Linked DNA regions of Homo sapiens: region 1 is linked to region 2. Evidence: promoter capture Hi-C in 16 types of primary human blood cells and fetal thymus (Javierre and others, 2016). All regions are on one chromosome and are shown on one strand. The core of a region is centred on a gene start or on the middle of the fragment in contact, and the rest is flanking DNA. Distances in the headings are between cores, read along the strand shown.

Evidence for each region. The method cuts DNA at HindIII sites, captures the fragments that hold promoters and counts their contacts. A CHiCAGO score of 5 or more calls a contact.
Region 1: a fragment that was not itself captured here is called in contact with the fragment with the promoter of LPIN2 in region 2 in 1 of 17 cell types (total B cells); the score reaches 6.0 in total B cells.

Annotation. Positions count from the first base shown.
Region 1 is chr18:5,296,195-5,300,970 of GRCh38, reverse strand. It overlaps a transcript of ZBTB14 not described here. Among named protein-coding and RNA genes, the nearest start is that of ZBTB14, 2.9 kb to the right of the region's middle. RefSeq lists enhancers at 4,037-4,196, 3,914-4,599 and a silencer at 4,407-4,776. The HindIII fragment of the contact is 239 bases long and covers 1,509-1,747 here.
Region 2 is chr18:3,010,312-3,014,810 of GRCh38, reverse strand. It overlaps LPIN2 (lipin 2), which reads left to right and starts at 1,667. Exons shown (of 20, transcript NM_001375808.2): 1 at 1,667-1,724. RefSeq lists a silencer at 1,277-2,226. The HindIII fragment of the contact is 8,581 bases long and covers 1-4,499 here.

The DNA.
Region 1 (4,776 bases), core at 379-2,878, 2.3 Mb before region 2:
GGGAATTTACCATTTTTTTTCCTTCTCGTTCTTCTGCCACTTGGCTGTAGATTAGAGTGTAGCCATGGAAGTGCCCCAACTTTCTGGATGTAGGATCAGAAAAGGGAGTTCCAGGAAGGTAGAAAGTACCAGGGAAATCAGAAGAGGAATGAGCCCAGGAAAGTGAGCCCCTAAAGTTGTTTATGAACCTCTAAGCTCCCCCTTGAGCTGCACATGCTGGGTCTGAGCCTAGTCAGCACATAAAAGACTTTGAGAATTGAACTAACAGATCATCAGATCCTAGACTGGCCAATGCCTGGAGCATATGAAACAGATCCAAGTAGCAGTCCGAAACCATCAAACCACAGCACACAGAAAGTGTGTTAAAACTGGTCACCAGAACGTAACCCGATTGTCTATTAAAATTAAAATATCAACATTTGCCACAGGATTTAAACAAGACCCAGGGTATTATAACATAATATTTAAAATGTTCAAGATGCAATCCAAAATAATTCAGCATACAAAGACCCAGGAAATCTCAACTCACGTATGAAAAAACAATCAACAGATGGCAACATTGAGATGACAATGATGTTGGAATTAAGTAAAAAGACTTAGAGGCAACTATTATAAATTCTCCAACAAGCAATTATGAACACTCTTAAATCGAAAAATAGGAAGTCTTAGCAAAGAAATAGAAGATATAAAGAAAAATACAATGAAAAAATTTAAAACTGAAAAATACAAGTGAAACAAAAAAACTCACTGGACAGGCTAAATGGCAGGGTGGAAACGACAAAAGAACAAGTCAGTGAATTGTAGAGAATCAATAGAGACTATTTCATCTGAACAACACAGAGAAAATATTTTAAAAAATGAAAAGACTTATGGTCCTATGACATAATTTTTAAAAAACTCAACGTTCCTGTCATTGGAATCTCAACAAAGGAGAAATAGTATGCTGTTGAAAAAAAATGTGAAAAAAATAATAGCTGAAAGCTTCCCAAATTTAGAGAAAGATATAAATAAACCTATGTATTTAAGAAGCTCGGCAATCCCCAAACAGTATAAGCAATGAAATCCCTACTCAGAAAACACCATAATCAAAATGCTGAAAACTAAAGACAAAGAAAAAAATCTTGAAAGTATCTAGGAAAAAATAATTACATGAACAGGAATAATTTTCGTTTTACAATAATATTGGATTTATGGAAGAGTTGTCAAGATAACACAGAGTGTTTCCAGAAACTCTTCACCCAGTTTCCTCGATGTTAACCCAAAAGGCAATGAGGAAATCTAAATGACCAGGTTCCAGAGGAAGAAGAAACAAGTGTCTGGTGCCCAGAGACGACCAGATGCCCCACCAGTTCTGATCCATAGGAGAATGATCGTTCCACATGGCCAACTCCATCCTCATGCAGCAATTCCTCCACAAGCACAAGACAAGCTTGTCCTGATGTTCCTTGCCCTGGCAGATGTTCAGGACCTTCCTTTGATTCAACCCCTCCACCTAAATGGCCCAAGCTTTCGGGGCTGTCATTGTGAAGACCCCTTCCTATAAACCACAAGGCCCTACAGGTGCTGGACACTGTTGTTCTCACAAACACATCTCATGTCCACTTTTGCAGAGACTGAGGTACTTCAAGCTCCTTCCACCCTTGCATTCACTTTGTTCCTGTCTCTGTCTTGAAATGCTATTTCTTCCCCCTCTTTGCGAATCTCTCCCTCATCTTTCAGGTCTTAAATGTATGCCTTTGAAGAAGCTTTCACTGATTTCCCAGGCAAAATTAATTCCTCCTGTTCCTCTTTTTCATCACATTCTGTGTTTTTTAACTTTCTATAAAAACACTTATTGCAATGTGCAATTGTGTAACGATGTGATTATTTGTTGAATGTGCACATCAGTATCTCCATGATGACACGGATTGGATCGGGTTTTTGTTCATTTGCTGTATCAAGTGTTCTCAGAGTCACAGGGGGAAGGTGGTTATGGCATTGGGTGTGACACTTTTCCTTGCACAGATGTATTAGATTTTGTTCAGTAACAAAGCATAAAACCCAACCTCCCAGTGGCTTATAAAACAAACATTTACTTCTCAGTCATAGGTCTGTGGGTGAGTTGTCTTCTCTCTAGGCTTGGCTGTGCTCAGGTTTTGGGTTGGCTTCATTCTCAGGTCTGTTTGTCATTCAAGGGCCCAAGCTGAAGAGGGGGTTGTGGCCTAACCATGGTCGTGTTGTGCTGGACGTCACAGCAGAGGAGGAGGCGCAGAACAAAGGCTGCTCTCAAAACCTCTACTCAGACCCGGCCCACTCTCATCTGCTGGTATCCTGCTGTTTCAAAACCAGCCAGAGGGCCCAAGGTCAACATGAGGGAGAAATCAACCTCCCCCGCCTGTGAGACATAATGTTTCCAAACGGTCCCTTACTGGGCTGCTCTGTAACCACATCAGACCCTGGCACCCGGGACTGCACACTGCGGGCCCCATGGCCTGGGCCTCACAATTCTTAGAAACAGGTTCCACTCAGGAGGCCATGGGTGTCCCAAGTGAGGAACAACGTGCTCCAAATGTCACCCATCAGAGTTGTCGGAAAAGGAGGAAAACTTTGTCAAGGACCTTGGGTCAGTGCATTTCAGGAAAGCCCTGCCCCCGCGTTGACGCCACAGTGTACTTTTACAAAGCCCCTTAGTATCAAATTCAAGGTTGTCACTTACTGTCCGCTGATGTTTATTGAAAGCCTCTTGGGTGCTGGGAAGTGCACTTTTGGGTGGCGACACAGGCGAGAAGCCAGGCTTGGGTCAGGCCTTTCCTTTGTGGTTTCCCATCCCTCCACCTTCCCACAGAGTTGTCCCTTTAATTTAGACTCATCCCCACAACCCCTGTGAACCAGCAAGGGACAGCCAGGCAGAGCCCAGGTGACATGAACATAAAACAAATGAGACAAGAGGATTCATTGATACAAAACCAGGATGTCAGGAACCGTCACTTGAGAAATGCATTCTAGTGCTTTAGAACTCTTGTGAATTATGTTATCGGGTTAGTGGAAACGTGGGAAGTCTTTTCCTAGCCATATGCGAAAAGATTGTCTTTACACAGTAGGCAGACCAAAAATACACGCAGAATGAGTGGGAAACCCCATATGTGGTATGGGAGAAGGGGGAGCGCCAGCAGCAGATGCGCCATGACTTGAGTACTGGCCGTGTCCACACATTGTGCTAACTGCAGTGGCTGCTTTACTGCTTGGTGACGCAACCCTATGACAGAGTACTATTATTATCCCCCTATAAACACACAGCATCCACAGGATTGAAATGCAACTTCAAGAGCTACGCAAACAAGAATAAAGCGAGTACACGGTATCATGTCTGATGAGTGTGAACTTTCGTGGCAGAAGACTTGGTTCTGGTTCTGTCCAGGCCACTGGAACCCACTATCTGTGGGTGCAGGTGATTTTCCATCATGGAGCTAATACCTTAGCTGGGCATTATTTCACTTAATCCTTACAAGTGCCTTATTAGGTGCTTTCCATAGCTCTCCTTCAGCTGAGGTTTAGAGAAGTTAAACAATTTACCCAATATGTGAACTGGATATGTCTGACTCTACAACCGGTCTCTTCCATCCTATTTCCTCCATATAAGCCGTAACTTGGGTGCTTTTGTGAACATCAAAAAAGATGCGTATAAAGTCGCCTTGGGGAACGTTAAACCAAAGTCAATTAACATTACAAAATCAACTGAGGCCATATAGAACTTCCTTTAGAAAATTAACACATCCAATCATCATATTATTTCCCAAATGTTTACTTAGGTGCCTGTTGCAAGCACTATCTTATGTCATCTTCAATAAGCCCAAGAGGAAGCTTCTGCTCTAATCTTTAGATATTAAATTACGCGTTTCGGGGAAACTTCGCGTGTGAGGTAAAGCAACATGAGCGACTCTAAGGCGGCGCGGCATTGCTGTCCGGCCTCCTGCATCTCGGTGAGCAGAAAACGCGGGAGCGGGAGGGACTTCCCAGCTCCCGACGCCAGACACAGGCACAGCCGCCGCGTCAGAGGGAAGGCGACGTGGTTCAACAGCAACGGAGCCATTACTGGCGCTGAGCAGGGATGTTAAGGACAGAGCCAAGTTATCAGAGCTCTCCGAATCGAGTCCAGGGTCTGGACTGCCACAGACGGGTCGCCGCCTCCAGCCCCTGGACTTTTCCTTGGAGTGTCCGGGCGCGGACCTACTAGCTCCGAAGCCCTATGGGTGATCCCTTTCTGCTGGGCAACTGGGGTTGCGCTTTACACTACAAATCGAAGACGTCGCTTTTTCCATTTGTTCTGCAAGTGTTTATTGTGCACCGTCCACTCCCCCACAAACTCAATGTGCCGGCGGCAAGAGGCAAGACCGCAGACCCGTGGGCGCGCCTCCCGGTGTCGGCCGGTGTGCGCGGAGGGCGAAAGTGGCCGGGGCGCCCGCTCCGAGACGCGGCAGAGCCCCGCAGCCTCAGCGCCCGGCCTGCGCGCGCCCGGGGGAGGCTCTGGCCCACGCACATGCACACGCACGGGAGCGCTGGCTCCCGCGTCCCCGGCGCTGCGCCGGCGCCGGGCGCGGGCGGAAGCCCACGAACCAGGGCGGGAGGGAGCTTGAGGCGGGGCGGGTGTCCGCGAGCAGCGCTCGTGCTTAAGTTCCCTGGCTCCCGAAGCCCCGCCCTTGCCCCGCCCACTCCTTCTCCCGCGCGCGGGCTCCGCGCGCCCCAAGCCGCGCGCGTGCGCGCGCGTGCGCAGGCCAGGGCCCTCCGGGGGCGGCCCCG
Region 2 (4,499 bases), core at 418-2,917:
CGAGTTTCACAGAAAAGCAGAAGGAACTTCAGTGAAGAAGTGGTCGCCTGCTCCCTGAATCCAAGCACTGCCCAGCTACACCAGGCACTGGTGGGAAGAAACTGGGCTGCAGCTGGATCCTTCAAGGAGCAGCTTTGTGTATGCAAATGCCTATTTCAGTACCCTTAGAACTGTATAAATGATCACACACAAGATGCACCTCATAAATTAACTGCCATTTATATAGAAGTAACATAGGCTTCTGTTCATTACTTTCAATCATAGAATAGTAATAGAATAGGCTGCAAATTAAAAACCAGTGTGCACCAATAGTATATAGCACCAGCAATCCAGTTTTTTTTGTTTTTTTTTTTTTTGAGACAGAGTTTCGCTCCCAGGCTGGAGTGAAGTGGCGCAATCTCTGCTCACTGCAACCTCCGCCCCCCGGGTTCAAGTGATTCTACCGCCTCTGCCTCCTAAGTAGCTGGGATTGCAGCCAACATGCCCGGCTAATTTTTGTATTTTTAGTAGAGGCGGGGTTTTGCCACGTTGGCCAGGCTAGTCTCCAACTCCTGACCTCAGGCGATCGACCCGCCTTGGCCTCCCAAAGTGCTGGGATTACCGGCGTGAGCCACCGCGCCGGGCCCCATTTCTTTTCTTTCTGAGACGGAGTCTCTCTGTCGCCAGGCTGGAGTGCAATAGCGCCATCTCGGCTCACTGCAATCTCCGCCTCCCGGGTTCAACTGATTCTCCTGCCTCAGCCTCCTGAGAAGCTGGGATTACAGGCACGCGCCACCACGCCCGGCTGGTTTTTTGTATTTTTAGTAGAGACGGGGGTTTCACCATGTTGGCCAGGCTGGTCTTGAACTCCTGACCTCAAGTGATCCGCCTGCCTCGGCCTTCCAAAGTGCTAGGATTACAGGCGTGAGCCACCCATTTCTTAAAAAGTATATTTTAATGCTGGGGACGGTGGCTCATGCCTGTAATTCCAGTACTTTGGGAGGCCGAGGTGCGGGGATGCTTGAGCCCAGGAGTTGGAGACCAGCCGGGGTAACAGAGCGATAAAAAGAATAAACAAAAAACAACAGAACCCCGGCATATTTTTAAAAATGAGTTGTGTAATAGGATTTTTTTTTTTTCGGTGGAGATGTAAGTAAGCAAAGGAGATGTGCTACTAGTGATCAAAAGGGGATTATAAAACATTCATTCCCTAGACTTTTTTTGCACTTTAACATTCCTTTTTGGCAATTGGGCTCTCAGTCCCACGTGACCTGCCGCAGGGTTGCCATGGGGACCGGAAGAAACTTTTTTTTTTTAAAACAAAGTAAGGCTCCTGTCGCCCGAGGCACTAGAAAATCGAGGCCCCGCCCTCACTTGGCCAGGGGCCCGGGCGCGCAGCCCAGGGACTGGGAGCGGTGAGAAGCCGCACGCCTGGCGCTCGGCGGCGGGGGCGCGGCGCGCGGCCGGGAGCGCGCGTCACGTGGCTGGGGCGGGGCCTGCGCGCTGCCCGCCCGCCAGCTGCCGGCTCGGCCGCCGCAGCCGCGGCGTCCCATTCATGAGGGCCGCCCGACTCAGCTGCGGCCCAGGCGGCTTCCAAGGCAGCGGCGGCTGCGGGCGCTCCGACCCCGCGCGCGCCCCCGACCGGCCCCGCCCCCTCGGCTTCCCTCCCCGGCGGGTCCTAGCCGTCGCAGTCCAGCCGCCGCCTGCCCTCAGCCGCCCGCTGGCCGGGAGCGGAGCCCCTGTGGGTAAGTGGGCGCGGGCCGGGCTCCTCGCAGGCGTCCCTCCGGGGCTGGCGGTGAGTGTCTGCGCCTGGGGGCTTCCCTTGGCGCGGGCCCGGGGCTGTCCTGCCGGAGGCCGGGACCCTCCGGGGCGGCGCGGGTTGAGCCGCCCCTCCTCGCGCCGCGGTCCCCGCTTCCCGGTCCTCGCGTCCCAGTCCCCGCCTCGCCGCGACCGCGCCACGTAGACGCGGCCCCTACCGCCGCCGCCGCAGGACGGACCGGCGGGGTGCGCGGGGAGCCGGGGGCGTCGGGGCGTCAGTGGTGGCTGCTGAGGACTCTGAACCCGCGCAGTTCCCTCGCCGCCGCCCTGGGGATGGTTACCCGAGACCACCCCTACCCCTGGGTTTGGGGCGCGGAGGGGAGTGCGGAAGGCGCGCGGGAGGCCGCGTCTCCATCCCGCCCCCGGCCCTGCGGGAGGGGGCGCCGGGCACGTGATCTGCGGCGAGGCGGGGGCCGCCGAGTTGCTGGTGTTTCTTCCCCGCCGCGCTTTGCCCCGTACCTCCGCCTTCAAGCTGTGTGGACCGGATTCAAATGTGGTTAGTTTTCTCAAAGCCCCCCAGCCCCCGGTGCAGATCTTAATTTGTGAGGAACACGTTCAGATACAGTTTGTACTGAGAGCCTCTCTGTCCACTTCTAACGCCAGCGGATCACCATTTTCTCCACTCGCCTGAACATTTTAAGACTCTTTTCATTGAAAATTCAAGATGACATTTTTTAGGCATAATTATGCAAACCAGTACCAGAAAGATCACCCTTCCTTTCCGAAAAGTACTGGAACTCTGAATACTTGGAAATGCTTTGAAGGACTACTTAGTAAATGGCCAAACTAATTTTTAATGCACATTTGGGGCTTACCCATTTTTTTTTTAATTGAAAACGAGGCTCTAGACTTGGTGTCAAGGTAGGTCCTGTTGAATGAAGTTCTTTACCCAGTAGTGATGATGGGTGTTACTGTTTATTAAAACTTGGCCTGGCTAGATTATAATGTTTTGACAATACAAAGTCGGTTTTGAAATACATTTTGAAATATTTACGAATTATTTAGTGGCCCATACTGGTTTATGTTTTAACGGTCTGGTGTTGATCGTTCTTAGTGGCTTCAGATTGAGAAGAAGTGGCAGGTGATGCTGAAGCGGGGGAGAAGCGGCAGAGCCGGCCACACAGTGCAGGGGATGGAGACAGGTGCTGGGCTGGTCCTCCTGCAGCATCCTCAGTTGTTGGAGGGCAGTCATCCTCAGGCCGTACCCAGCCAGAGAAGAAAAAGAACAGTGTGAAGCCACGTGTGATAGCCGTCCAACATCGGCTCTTCCCTCCAATTACATTGTAGTTGATTGTGGTATGTCAGACTGAAGTATCTCTTTTATTTCGAGACAGAGTCTCACTCTGTCGCCCAGGCTGGAGTGTAGTTGCGCGATCTCCGATCACTGCAATCTCTGCCTCCTCTGTTAAAGCGATTCTTGTGCCCCAGCCTCCCGAGTAGCTGGGATTACAGGCATGAGCCACCACACTCAGCTAATTTTTGTATTTTTATTAGAGACCGGGGGTTTCACCATGTTGGCCAGGCTGGTCTCGAACTGCCGACCTCAGGTGATCCGCCCCCCTCGGCCTCCCAAAGAGCTGGGATTACAGGCGTGAGCAACCGCCCCAGCCAGACTTAAGGTATCTCCATGCCCAACTTTTGATAGAGGTAGCCATAGAAAGCTAGAAATGAAACGACAGGTTCTGTTTTAACGTTTGATGGCACAGTCGAGAGTCAATAGGCACGCATTATGCTTAAGAGAAGCTGGAAATGAAGTGTTTGAAAACCCTTTAATACTATAGTAAAGCACTGTTAAGAAGCAAATAATAGAGTCAGCTGGGGCTTTGTCTTCTTTATTGCTAGGAGAATGTAGCAATAGAAGTTCTCATCGCCCTGTATTGCACTTTTGGTTTTAAGGACTGGACCCAGAGTTCCTGAAAGCCAAACTCCATAGCTGCTCAGTAAGTTCCAAGCACATAGCCGGCTTTGGGATGCGATTCGGTCGAGGTCTGTTGAATGAAGGTAGACGCAGCAGGCAGTTTGTCCTTACCAGTGACCTGGAAGACGGTGGCACTTCCTGAGTGAGCTCACTTACCTTCCCTGAATGGTGAGGCATGGATGAATATTCCTGGTGGTGCCACGTGTTAGAGGTGGTAAAGGGTCAAATGTTTACTTTTATTAATATTACATTATGGCTTGGTTCTCTGTGTCAGCGATTTTTCTATGCCTTGGGTACTTATTTCCTAATATATATCAGCACAGTAACGCCTAGCTGGAGGCTTTGTCTTGTTAGTTGATAGATTAGTGGTAACAGGTAGATTTGGTTATCTCCCGTAGGTGCTTAGCAATTTACATCAAGAGGCTTTTCTTTAAGTCTGATTTAAGTCTTTCCATCTTTAATTTAAATCCATTTCTTTTTACTCCGACCCCAGTGACTGTCGTTGAGTGTGTATTTGCCCGACTTGCCGTGCCAGATTGGTAGGCAGTGGTTTGGAATCTTCATTTTAAAATCCTGTTTTTCTCTCTCCAATACCCTTCACTGCTTGGTAAGTTTTTATACTTCTCAATGAGACCCAGAGTCTCGTGACCTACCATTTGCCTCCTTCATGATGAAACAACTCACAAGTTGGTAGATAGCCTCCAGTTGGCAGAATCCTATGTATAATGTGTCTTTAAAACTTGAAGAGTTTGAAGGTATTATAGCCTGGAGCAGTAAGTTTTAT